3 separate regions of the Homo sapiens genome follow, and all the other regions are linked to region 2. Evidence: promoter capture Hi-C in 16 types of primary human blood cells and fetal thymus (Javierre and others, 2016). All regions are on one chromosome and are shown on one strand. The core of a region is centred on a gene start or on the middle of the fragment in contact, and the rest is flanking DNA. Distances in the headings are between cores, read along the strand shown. Region 1 has its middle 5.9 kb from the start of IL21R. Region 2 holds the start of ARHGAP17 (Rho GTPase activating protein 17). Region 3 overlaps NSMCE1-DT (NSMCE1 divergent transcript).

Region 1 (3,961 bases), core at 1,270-3,769, 2.4 Mb after region 2:
CAGAGCCCAAAAATATATGAAGCAAATATTGACAGAACTGAATAGAGGAATAGACAGTTCTACAATAATAGTTGGAGACCATCTAGACAGAAGACTAAGAAAGTAGGGGACTTGTACAACTATAAACCAACCAGAGCTAATAGACACACATAGAACACTCCACCCAACAATAACAGTGACCACAAAGTGCACATGGAACATTCTCCAGGACTGACTATATGTTAAGCCACAAAACAAGTCTTGATAAATTTTAAAAGATTGAAATCATATGAAGTGTCTTCTCTGATCACAATGAAGTTAGGTATCAATAGCAGAAGGAAAACTGGAAAATTTACAATTATGTGGAAATTAAATAGCATATTTTTAAACAGTCATCATGTCAATGAAGAAATCACAAGGAAATTAGAAAATACTTAGAGACAAATGAAAATGAAAGCACCAAAAACACACCCAGAATTATGGGATGTAGCAAAAGCAGTGCTAACAGGGAAATGTGTAGCCCTACATGCCTTCATTAAAAAAAAACAACAAATAAGATCACAAATCATAACCTAACTTTACTTTTAAAGGAACTAAAAAAAGAAGGACAAATGAAACCCAAAGGTAGCAGAAGGAAGGAAATAATAAAGATTAGAGTGCAAACAAGCAAAATAAAGAATACAAAATCAATAGAGATGAAAGAAACCAAGAGTCGTTTCTTCAAAAAGATTGACAAAATTGACAAGCCTTTAGTTGGACTAAGCAAAAGAAACAATACAAATCACTAAAATCAGAAATGGAAGTGGGAATATTACTACAAATCATACAGAAATAAAAAGGATCATAAGGGAGTACTGTGAATGACTGTATGCCAACAAATTAGATAATAATAGTTGTCAACTTAAATATTAAAGTTTGGTAACACAAACTGCCAAAACTGACTCAAGAAGAAATAGAAAATCTTAATAAACATACAACAAGTAAAGAGTTGAATCAAAAACCTCCCAATGAAGAAAAGTCCAGAGTCAGATGGCTACACTGGTGAATTCCACTAAACATTGGAAGAAGAATTAACATCAGTTCTTCTCAAACTCCTCCACAAAACAGGAGAGAAATCCAGACAAGAGAACCACAAGAAAACAAAACTACAGACTAATATTCCTTATGAATATAGATATAAAATTTCACAAAAATACAAGCAAACTAATTCTACAGCACATTAAAAGGATTATACAGTGTGACCAAAAAGGATTTATCCCAGGAATGCAAGGGTGGTTCAACATAAGAAAATTAATCAATACAATACATAACATTAATAGAATAAGAAAACCCACACGATCATCCAAATTGATGCAGAAAAGCATTTGACAAAATTTAACACCCTTTCATGATAAAAACACTCAGTAAAGTAGGAATAAGAGAGAACTCCCTCAACATGATAAAGACCATATATGAAAAACCTGGCTGGGCACAGTGGCTCATGCCTGTAATACCAGCACTTTGGGAGGCCGAGACAGGCAGATCACCTGAGATCAGGAGTTCGAGACCAGCCTGGCCAACATGGTGAAATGCTGTCTCTACTAAAAATACAAAAATTAGTTGGATGTGGTGGCACACACCTGTAATCCCAGCTACTTGGGAGGCTGAGGCAGGAGAATCACTTGAACCCATGAGGTTGCAATGAGCTAAGATCATGCCACTGCACTCCAACCTGCACCAGAGTGAGACTCCATCTCAAATAAAAAAGAGAGAGACAGAGAAAGAAGGAAAGAGAGAAAGAAAGAAAGAGAAATAAAGAAAGAAAAACCCGCAGCTAACAAGCTAACATCACACTAAATCAGTGAAAGACTGAAAACTTTTCCACCAAGATCAGGAAAGAGGATGCCCACTTTCACCACTGGTATTCAACATTGCACTGAAAGTTTTAACCAGAACAATTCAGCAAGAAAAAGAAATAAAAGGCATTCAAATGGGAAAAGGAAAGAGTAAAAACTACTGTTATTCGCAGATGACATGATCATATATATGGAAAATTCTAAAGAACGCACAAAGAAATTATTAGAGCTAATAAATTCAGCCAAGTGACAGGGTATAAGATCAACATACAAAAATAAATTGTGTTTGTATATACTAGCAATAAACAACCCCAAAAGGAAATTAAATAAATTCTATTTATAATAGCATCAAAAATAATAAAATACTTAAGAATAAATTTAACCAAGGAGGTGCAAGATTTGTACACTGAACACTATAAAATATTGCTGAAAAAATTAGAAAAGACCTAAATAAAGTTTTTTAAATTCTATGTTAATGTAATGGAAGATTTAACATTGCACTCCTCAAAGTAATTTATAGATTTAATGCAATTCCTATAAAAGTCCCAATGGCCTTTTTTAAAAAATGGAAAAACTGATCCTAAAAATCATGTGAAATTTCAAGGGACCCAGAAAAGCCAAAACAATAAAGTTGGAGGACTCAAATTCCCATTTTTAAAATTTACTGCAGAGCCAAGATTGTGCCATTGCATTCCAGCCTGGGCAACAAGAGCGAAACTCTGTCTCAAAACAACACAAAAACAAAAACAAAACAAAACAAAACTTACTGCAGAGCTACAGTAATCAAAACAGTGTGATAATCCTGGCACAAGGCTAGACATATAGATCAATGGAATTGAACTTAGAGTTCAGAAATAAACCCATGAATCTATAGTCAATTTTTTTTCATTTTTTTTGCATTAAAGCACACTATCAACAAAGTGAAAAGACAGCCACAGAATGGGAAAAATATTTGTAATTCATATATCTGATAAAGGTGAGTTTCCAGAATATACAAAGAACTCTTAAAATTCAACAACAAATGATGAACAATCAAATTTAAAAATTGGCAAGGAGCTGGGCACGGTGGCTTATGCCTGTAATCCCAGCACTTTGGGAGACTGAGGTGGGCGGATCACCTGAGGTTAAGGGTTCGAGACCAGCCTGGTCAACATGGTGAAAACCCGTCTCTACTAAAAACACAAAAATTAGCTGGATATGGTGGCACACGTTTGTAAGCCCAGCTACTCGGGAGGCCGAGGCACAAGAATCGCTTGAACCCAGGAGGTAGAGGTTTCAGTGAGCCAAGATCACACCACTGCACTCCAGTGTGGGAGACAGATCAAGACTCTGTCTAAAAAAAAAATAAAATAAATAAAATTTGGCAAGGGACTTCAATAGACATTACTCCAAACAAGATATGCAAATGACTACCAAGCACATGAAAAGATGCTTACCATCATTAGCCATTAGGGAAATGCAAATCAAAACCACAATGAGATACCACTTCACATCCGCTAGGATGGCTATAATAAAAACCAACAGAAAATACATATTGTCTGCTGGGTGCGGTGGCTCACGCCTGTAATCCCAGCACTTTGGGAGGCCGAGGCGGGCGCATCACGAGGTCAGGAGATCGAGACCATCCTGGCTAACACGGTGAAACCCCGTCTCTACAAAAGAAAATACAAAAAATTAGCCAGGCGTGGTGGCAGGCACCTGTAGTCCCAGCTACTCGGGAAGCTGAGGCAGGAGAATGGCGTGAACCCGGGAGGCGGAGCTTGCAGTGAGCCGAGATCGCGCCACTGCACTCCAGCCTGGGCGACAGACCGAGACTCCATCTCAAAAAAAAAAAAAAAAAGAAAAAAAAAAAAAAGAAAATACATATTGTCAAGGACGTAGAGAAATGGGAACCTTCAGACATTGCTGGTGGGAATATAATACAGGGCAGCTGCTGTGAAAAACAGTTTGTCAGTTTCTTAATAAGTTAAACTTATTTAAAAGTTAATAAGTTAAACTACCTTTAACTCAACAAGTCTCCTTCTGGGTATATATCCAAAAGATTTGAAAATGCATGTCTACACAAAGACTCGCATGCAAGTGTTCATAGCATGCTTGTTTGTAGTAAAGGAAAAAGTGGACATACTCCAAATGTCCATCATCTCATG
Region 2 (4,023 bases), core at 1,057-3,556:
ACACAAGAGGCAGTCACAGCACAGAAAAGCAAGTGCTACACAGGATTACAAGAACGCCCAGGAGAGGCATCCAATCTATGCTGTAGCATCATAGAAGGCCTTTCAGAGGCAGAGGGACCTTTCCCAGAAGGCTGAAGAATGAGCAAGAGGTGCCTGGAGAAAAGGTGTGGTGGGAGAGGCTTCCAGGAGTTCCAAGTAGATGCTAGCAGGTAAGAAAGCAAGACCTCCTGTGGAAACTGAAGGTAGGCAAGCATGGCCGGAATTTTAAAATGTGAAGGTGCCAGGCAAGGTGGCTCACGCTTGTAGTCCCAGAACTTTGGGAGGCCAAGGCAGGCAGATCAGTTGAGGCCAGGAGTTCGAGACCACCCTAGGCAACATGGCAAATCCCCACTCTACAAAAAATACAAAAATTAGCGGATGTGGTGGTGCCCACCTGTAGTTCCAACCACATAGGTGGCTGAGGCGAGAGGGTCGCTTGAGCCCAGGGAAGTCAAGGCTGCAATGAGACAAGATCGCACCACTGCACCCCAGCTTGGGTGACAAAGGGAGACCCTGTCTCAAAAAAAAAAAAAAGTGTGAAGGGAGAAGCCTCTAAGATGACCCAGGAGTCAAAGAGACCCTAAATAGCTTGGTAGATTTAAGTCTCAGAACTTTGTATAAAAAGAGTGAAAGTCCCTTACCTGTCACGAACAATGTAAAAACAAGCCAAACGACTATTTGACAAATGTATCTTGGCACTTACTAAATACTAGTTCCACAATGCACGTTGCTCAGAACACTAACAAGGGTACGAAACTCACAAGAAATTATCATGTGCTTGTAAACTGTTCCTTGAAACATCAGCCGCCATTACCACACGTCTACCTTCCTCTCAGCATTATTTCTTTAATTTTCCTGCAAATAACAGAAAAGTAGGTTTGTCTGGGCTTTAGGGGCAGCGATTAACCCTGAAAATAAGAGTTAATTCTCACCACAATAATACGGTAGGGAATCGAAAAAATTAAACAAGGAAACTAAGCAAAAAGATGGAGGAAATGAAACAGTAAAAAGCAAATTTAGAAAACTCGAGAGGAAGTAAAAGTATTTTCATACACTCAAAAAAAAGAAGTGTCCCACGTGCTTCAGCCAAACCAAACTCCCCTTAACTGTTAAAAACAGAAAATCAAAAGAAGAGCTGTGAGAAATTCATACTTTCGTATCTCTTTGCTGAATAAACACTAAATCGGTACAGTACAGCCAGCTGCCCTGAAAGACCTTGAAATATTAGCCCCAGATAATACAGCACATGACAGTCACCTCCAGAAACTCTCAAAAACCACAAATCATTTCTTGTTCTGACAACCTGATCTACCAACTCTGGTCTAGCCTGCCATTTAATAATCAATAACGTTTCTTGTTAAGCACTTCAACCGTAGCAAAGGAAGATAAAGAAGCATTTGTTTCCAAACCTAAGGTGAGACTTTTTAAATTGGCGCAAGGCGTCTCCATAATCCTTTTCCGCCAATTCCTAATTTCTAAATGTCAAGAACTGGCAGCAGCAGTCCAGTTCCTAGGAGCCCTGGTTTTGAGACAGCACCACCTCCGAATTCCCTCAAAGGGCGTTCTGAACTCACTGAGCAAATCCGGCTGGCTTTCATGTCCCTCTAGCCATTTCTTGCCGCCATGCACTTACAGGAGAAGGACTCGCAAACAGCGGGAGCACCGGGAAAGCCTGGGACTGCCGCCCCCCACAGCACAGCGCTCGGCACAGCGTTAGGGACAGAAGTCACCGTTGTTGAGCCCAGGGCAGCGATCCCAGCTGGCTCGGCCCCCGGGAAGGGAGGAGAAGGACCGGGTCTACTCCCCGAGGGCGATGCTCCCGGGGCAGGGACAATGGGCAGGGGACCCCGCGGTGTGGCGGAGGAGGCGGCGGCCCTCCCCTGCAGGTCTCGGGAGCCCGGCGGCGCTGAGAGACAGGCGGGCCGCCTGGAGCGCGGCGCTCGGGCCTCAGCGCGGCGCAGCCCCCGGGCCCGTGCCCCGCTGGTCTCGGGCAGGGGCTGCGGCCCAGCTCAGAGCCGCCGGACCGCGGAGGAGCCGTCCCGCCCCCGCGCCCTCCGCCCTCCGCCCCCAGCCCCGGTGCGACCCCCGTGCTGCCCGGCGCACTCGCCTGCCCACGGTCTGGTTAGCCAGCTGCTTCATGCGGTTGAACTGCTTCTTCATGGCGGCGGTGGCGGCGGCGGCCCGCGGGGCTCGGGCCGGGCAGGGCGGGGGACAGCCTGGCAGCTACTACATCGCTTCCCGGCCCAAACGGCGGCGCGGCGGTGGCTCCCCGGGCCGGCGGCCCCGCCCTCGCCTCGTCACTTCCAGTGGCACCGCCCGCCCGCCCTCTAGGTCTGGCCGAGCCGAGCTGAGCCCGAGTAGAGCCGAGTCGAACCGAGCCGAGGCTAACAGTGCCTTACCTGACACGGGCGAAGAGCTAGAAGGCCCCGGGCGAGAAGACCACTAGGCCTCCTCCGCCTGGCCTCCCCGACCCCAACGCTGCCCGGTCACCCTCTCGTTTATTTCAACGTATGAAAAGCTGTTTCTAGCAGGGCGCAGTGGTTCAACGTTGTAATCTCAGCACTTTGGGAGGCCGAGGGGGCAGATCACTTGAGCTCGGGAGTTCGAGAGCAGCCTGGCCAACACGGTGAAATCCTGTCTCTACTAACAATACAAATTTAGCTGGGCGTGGTGGTGGACGCCTGTAATCCCAGCTACTCAGGAGGCTGAAGCAGGAGAACGGCTTTTACCCGAAAGGCAGAGGTTGCAGTGAGCCGAGATGGCGCCACTGCACTCCAGCCTGGGCAACAGAGTGAGAGACCCTGTCTCGAAAAAAAAAAAAAAAAAAAAAATTAAAGTCAATGTGTGTTTTCCTTAACACACGTGCTCACACACTCATGTCTTCCTGGTTTGGTGGCCTTGGCTCCAGGTAAGCCCCTTCTTTGCATTGGATGGGCAGCAATGTGGCTTCTTTCATCAGCCACATCTCAAATGTGCTCCTAAATGTCATAGAAAAAGGAAAGAGCTCCCTAACTATGGGATAAAGGAGACTGATGCCAGTTTGGAATTCTTAATATCAAAGAATGAGGGACTTCAAGATCTTTTTAGTGACCTAGGAGAGACCTAGGAAGCATCAGAGCTTCAGATAGGGCAGCAAACTAAAAGTTATCGACATCAATTACAACAGAAAGAGGTAGAAATGAGCCTTCCTAAAACAAGAAAGCAAGCACTACAGGATCGGTTGCAGGACCGGCAGCCAGCCCTGGAGTCAGCACATTCAGGGAAGGCCGGAGGTTCCCATCCACACTGCATCCCCTCCATTCCATGTGGTACCCATCATGCTTCAGTGTTCCACGACGCTTACATGGGTTTTTATGACATAATTTCATCATAACAAGAAATAAACAGATAGTCCAATGAAGTTCTAAAACTTGAGTCTCCAGTTGGCCATTGGAAATGTATTGCTCAGACTTATAAAATAGGAGGAACAACTAGTTTTGATGAAAATGAAATCTACAAACTACAAACACCAAATATTAATATCATCAAGGAGCTCAAACAAAAAAGAAGTCAGGATACTGATGACCATCAGCTTGAATTATCAGTATTACAGAATGTTCATCAACAGAAATTGAGGGAAATAAGTTGTAAGCATCAAGAAAATCTAAGCAATTAGGAAGAAAAGATTGAAGAACTGGAAAATTTGTTACAGCAAGGTGGCTCAGGAATTACAGTACATGATCTCTCTAAACTTCAAGAGAAGGAAAACACTATTCATGCAAGCTCTACAAATTGAAAAAGTAGAGTCTACCAAAAAATTGAAGAATTTGAACATAGAGTAAAAGACAAATAAAAAATTATCTTCTGGGGCCAGGTGCAGTGGCTCACACCTGTAATCCTAGCACTTTGGGAGGTCAAGATGGGAAGATCACTTGAGCTCAGGAGTATGAGACTAGCCTGGACAACATACTAAAACCTCATCTCTATGAAAAATTTAAAAAAAAA
Region 3 (4,444 bases), core at 316-2,815, 2.3 Mb after region 2:
GTCACTGAGCCTCAGTTTCCTCTTCCATTAAATGAGGATATTAGTTCTTGCAAAATAGTGTTGGTGAGATTTACAAGAGATAATAACACCTATATCAGGTGCTTAGCATGGCCATTGAAAAGTGTCACATGGGAGTGCTGATTATATGTTAACTGTTATCTTACCTAGGGATTGTGAGAAAGCAAGTGAAATTACTCGTGGAAGTGAATGGACTGCTTTGAGTCTTCAAGGCGTTAATTTTCCAAACGTTTGAATTCTATCCCTGGTCTGAGAGCTAGGGATGCAGCCTAGCAAGGGAAACAGGTAACTAATATAGAACAGCAGTACCTGCAAATATCTGTCTCTGTGAGGATAGATCAAATCCAGGCTTGGTCACTCACCACCCCTGTGATCTTGGACAACCTCTTAACCTCTCTGGGCTTCAGTTTCATCTGCTAAGTGGGAAAGCAGTGGTGTGTGGTGATTAAAAGCTTCAGCTTTGGAGCTGGATGGTCAACATGGAATCCTGGGCCTTAAACTCAGTGTCTCTGAGACATAGGACAAAGTACAGTCAGCTGTCCATGTTTACAGGTTCCCCATCTACGGATTGAAGCAACTGTGGGTGGTTAATATTTGTGGGGGAAAACAGTAAAAAATAACAGTTCAACAATAAAAATAATACAGATTCCGAAAGCAATACAGCATAGCAATTACTTATATAGCATTTACATTGTATTAAGTATTGTAAGTAATTTAAAGATGATTTTCAATATACTGGAGGATTTGTGTAGGTTAAATGCAAGTATTCTCGCATTTTGTAAGCACCCAATGGTTCTCCTTGCCTGCTTCCTAGACAGAACCAATTTATCAAGACAGGGGAATTGCAATAGAGAAAGTTTAATTCACACAGAGCTGGCTGAACAGGAGACCACAGTTTTATTATTACTCAAATCAGTCTCCCTGGAAATTCAGGGTTTTCAAGGATAATTTGGTGGCTGGAGGTGCTGGGGATTAGAGAGTGTTGATAGGTTGGATCAGAGAGGAAAGGAGTCAAAGCTGTCCTCTTGCACTGAGTCAGATCCTGGGTTAGGACCATAGGACCAGATTAGCCAGATTACAGGGCTGGGTGGCGTCAGCTGGTGCATTAGAACACGGGTTCTGCAAAATATCTCAAGCACTGATTTTAGGTTTTAGAACAGTGATGTTACTCCCGGAAGCAATCTGGGGAGGGTCAGAATCTTGTAGCCTCCAGCTTGCGTGACCTCCTAAACCATAATTTCTAATCTTTTAGCTAATTTGTTAGTCTACAAAGGCAGACCCGTTCCTAGGCAAGGAGGGGATTTGTTTTGGGAAAGGGCTATTATTGCCTTTGTTTCAAAGTTAAACTATAAACTAAGTTCTTTCCAACATTAATTCCACCTATGTCCAGGAATGATCAAGGACAGCTTGGAAGTTAGAAGCAAGATGGAGTCAGGCCAGATCTCTTTCACTATCATAATTTTCTCAGTTATGCTTTTTACAAAGGTGGTTTTGATTTTACATAAGGGACTTGAGCATCGAGAATTTTGGTATCCATGGGGACTAAGGTACCAATCCCTCACAGATACTAAGGGATGACTGAGCTCAAGTTTTCAGCTTCAGTTTGCTCATCTATAAAGCAGGTTTAATAATAACACTTTGTTGATAATGTTATTCTGAAGATTAAAGGAAGAGTAAACGTAAACTACTTAGAAGAGTGTCTCTGGCACATTGTAAGCCCTCAATAAGTGTGAACTAACACCACTAATAAGTTCTTTATAAACTGCCTAATAGGTAGTCAAATAAGAGGGGAAATAAAGCCCTAAGGAGTAATATTTGTGTTTTGTTTGCCCTACATGGTTTTGTGAAATTTTCTATTCATTATCAATATTTAAAGTTGGGGTTTTCAATCTTTGACTGGGCATGATGGCTCATTCCTGTAATTCCAACACTTTGGGAGGCCCAGCTGGGAGGATGGCTTGAGCTCAGAAGTTTGAGATCAGCCATGGCCAACATGGTGAGGCCCCCATCTCTACAAAAAAAATATATACGCGCGCGCGCACACACACACACACACACACACACACGCAAAAATTAGCCAGGCATGGTGGTGAACACCTGTGGTCCCAGCTACTCAAGAGGCTGAGGTGGGAGGACAGCTTGAGCCAAGGAGGAAGAGGTTGCAGTGAGCTGAGATTGCATCACTGCACTCCAGCCTGTGTGACAGAGCCAGACTCTGTCTCAAAAATAAATAAATAAACTTGGGACATTTCACATAAAACCCTACTGTAGCTGACTGCTCTGGAAAAGTGGGGAAGTCTGACGACAGTGGGCCAGCCTTCCCCCATGGCAGCACTTGTTCAGAACTTGGGAGAGACCGTCCCCTTTTGTGAAGCATGTGCTTCCCTGGTGTGTGGAGAGATAAAAGAATAGAAAACGCTGGGAACACCAGCATTTCAAGATCAAAGCGTCAAGAAAAAAAGGTAGAAAGAAAAGAAAGATTCAAGACTGAGGGGGTTGGTCTTTCACTTGAAGACCATAGAAGTGATGGAAGACCAGGAAGAAATGAGAGAAGGTTTGTATTTTAGAAAAAGAACTTGGGTATATCTATTCTTTTCAAACATGCTTGGAACATTTACAGAAATTGATTACTGGGCCACAAAGGAAGCTTCAAGAAATTCTCAAGAATCTATAGGTGACATTCATGAACCACATGCTGTGAAAGTGGCATCAGAGGCACATAGGAATACAGACTTTTGAGAAGGAGGGTGTGGTCAGAATCGTCAATGCTCTGGAGAGGTCGAGTAAGATGCGCCACTGATTTAGAATTTGATGGCCAACAAAGGCCATCTTAATAGAGAGGGGAGGAAGCCAGATCGAACTCCAAGAGTGAAGAGTGGAAGTTGAGGAAGTGGAGAGGGAATGCTGACTGCTCTTTTGGGAAGTATGGCTTCAGAAGGGAAGACTTGAAGACATAGGAGCAGAGATAATAATCCATAAAATAAAAACAGGCAGCCGGGTGCGGTGGCTCACGTCTGTAATCCCAGCACTTTGGCAGGCCGAGGCGGGTGGATCATGAGGTCAGGAGTTCGAGACCAGCCTGGCCAATATGGTAACACCCTGTCTCTACTAAAAATACAAAAATTAGCTGGGCATGGTGGTGCGTGCCTGTAGGCCCAGCTACTTGGGAGGCTGAGGCAGAAGAATCACTTAAACCCAGGAGGCAGAGGTTGCTGTGAGCTGAGATCGAGCCACTGTACTCCAGCCTGGGTGACAGAGTGAGATTCCATCTCAAAAAAAAAAAAAAAAAGAATTTGAGACTAGCCTGGCCAACATAGTGAGACCCCATCTCTACTAAAAATACAAAAAATTAGCCGGGCGTAGTGGCGCACACCTGTAGTCCCAGCTACTCTGGACGCTGAGGCAGGAGAATGTCTTGAACCCAGGAGGTGGAGGTTGCAGTGAGCCGAGACTGTGCCAGTGCACCCCAGCCTGGGCAACAGAGCAAGACTCTGTCTTAAAAAAAAAAAAAAAAACACCAAAAAAAAAACAGACAAAAAGGGATGGGGTCAAAGGTGTATAGCGACAGGATTACTGTTAACCTAGAGAAGAGAAGAGACACTTCTGAAACAGCAGGAAAAGAGGTGAAAGTGGCTAAAAAAAGCTCACTCCTGATGTTTTCCGTTTTCTCCGTAAGGTAGCAAACAGTATCAATCTTTGGCTGAAGAGGGCCTGGCGTGGTGGCTCACACTTGTAATCCCAGCACTTTGGGAGGCTGAGGTGGGAGGATTGCTTGAGATCAGGAGTTCGAGACCAGCCTGGGCAACACAGCAAGACCTCGTCTCTACAAAAAAAAAATTAAAAATTAGCCGAGTGTGGTGGCATGTGTCTGTAGTCCCAGCTACTTGAGAGGTTGAGGTGGGAGGATGGCTTGAGCCTGGGAGGTAGAGCCCAGGAGGTTGAGGCTACAGTTGAGGTTAAGGTTGAGGGATGGTGCCACTGCACACCAGCCTATCCCAAAAAAAGGTTGGGAGGTGCTGAGGAGATGCTAAGGGATTTAAGGGGAATGGATCAAAAGGTTTGGAAGAGACGCTGACGACAATGCAGAGATGAGTTCCTAGCTGAGGTTGAAACCAGAAATGTGTAGAGATGACAGTTGGTTATCTGATCCCTCCCTCAACACCCCCATCCCCATCCTGGGGGCTTCAGAGCAGAAGCTCAGCCTGGATTCATACTGAAGTGGGCCTTAGCTGGGGTTAAGCAACTGATTCATAGAAGGCCAAGTGACGGGAGAATGCTACTGTCAAGTGATCCACTATGGATCTGGCAAAAATAAAAAGAAGGGAAAGTGCTGACAAATTAAAATGGAAGCAGTACAGCAATCAGAGGCCTCTATGAGGTGAATCTCGTTCAGCAGGAACAAGTAGTGAGTAAGGATCGAAGTTCA

The links. The method cuts DNA at HindIII sites, captures the fragments that hold promoters and counts their contacts. A CHiCAGO score of 5 or more calls a contact.
Region 1: a contact is called between a fragment that was not itself captured here and the fragment with the promoter of ARHGAP17 in region 2, in 1 of 17 cell types (M0 macrophages). The highest score is 5.5, in M0 macrophages.
Region 3: a contact is called between a fragment that was not itself captured here and the fragment with the promoter of ARHGAP17 in region 2, in 1 of 17 cell types (M0 macrophages). The highest score is 6.6, in M0 macrophages.

Annotation. Positions count from the first base shown.
Region 1 is chr16:27,394,289-27,398,249 of GRCh38, forward strand. No RefSeq gene overlaps it. Among named protein-coding and RNA genes, the nearest start is that of IL21R, 5.9 kb to the right of the region's middle. The HindIII fragment of the contact is 8,609 bases long and covers 1-3,961 here.
Region 2 is chr16:25,013,063-25,017,085 of GRCh38, forward strand. ARHGAP17 (Rho GTPase activating protein 17) reads right to left here and starts at 2,307. Exons shown (of 20, transcript NM_001006634.3): 1 at 2,147-2,307. The coding sequence starts at 2,199. It also overlaps the pseudogene LOC100421171. RefSeq lists enhancers at 1,195-1,863, 1,864-2,532 and silencers at 1,846-1,895, 1,956-2,005, 2,066-2,115, 2,196-2,445. The HindIII fragment of the contact is 8,408 bases long and covers 1-4,023 here.
Region 3 is chr16:27,269,503-27,273,946 of GRCh38, forward strand. All of the region lies in intron 1 of NSMCE1-DT (NSMCE1 divergent transcript), which reads left to right. Among named protein-coding and RNA genes, the nearest start is that of NSMCE1, 3.0 kb to the left of the region's middle. RefSeq lists an enhancer at 2,152-2,700. The HindIII fragment of the contact is 2,195 bases long and covers 469-2,663 here.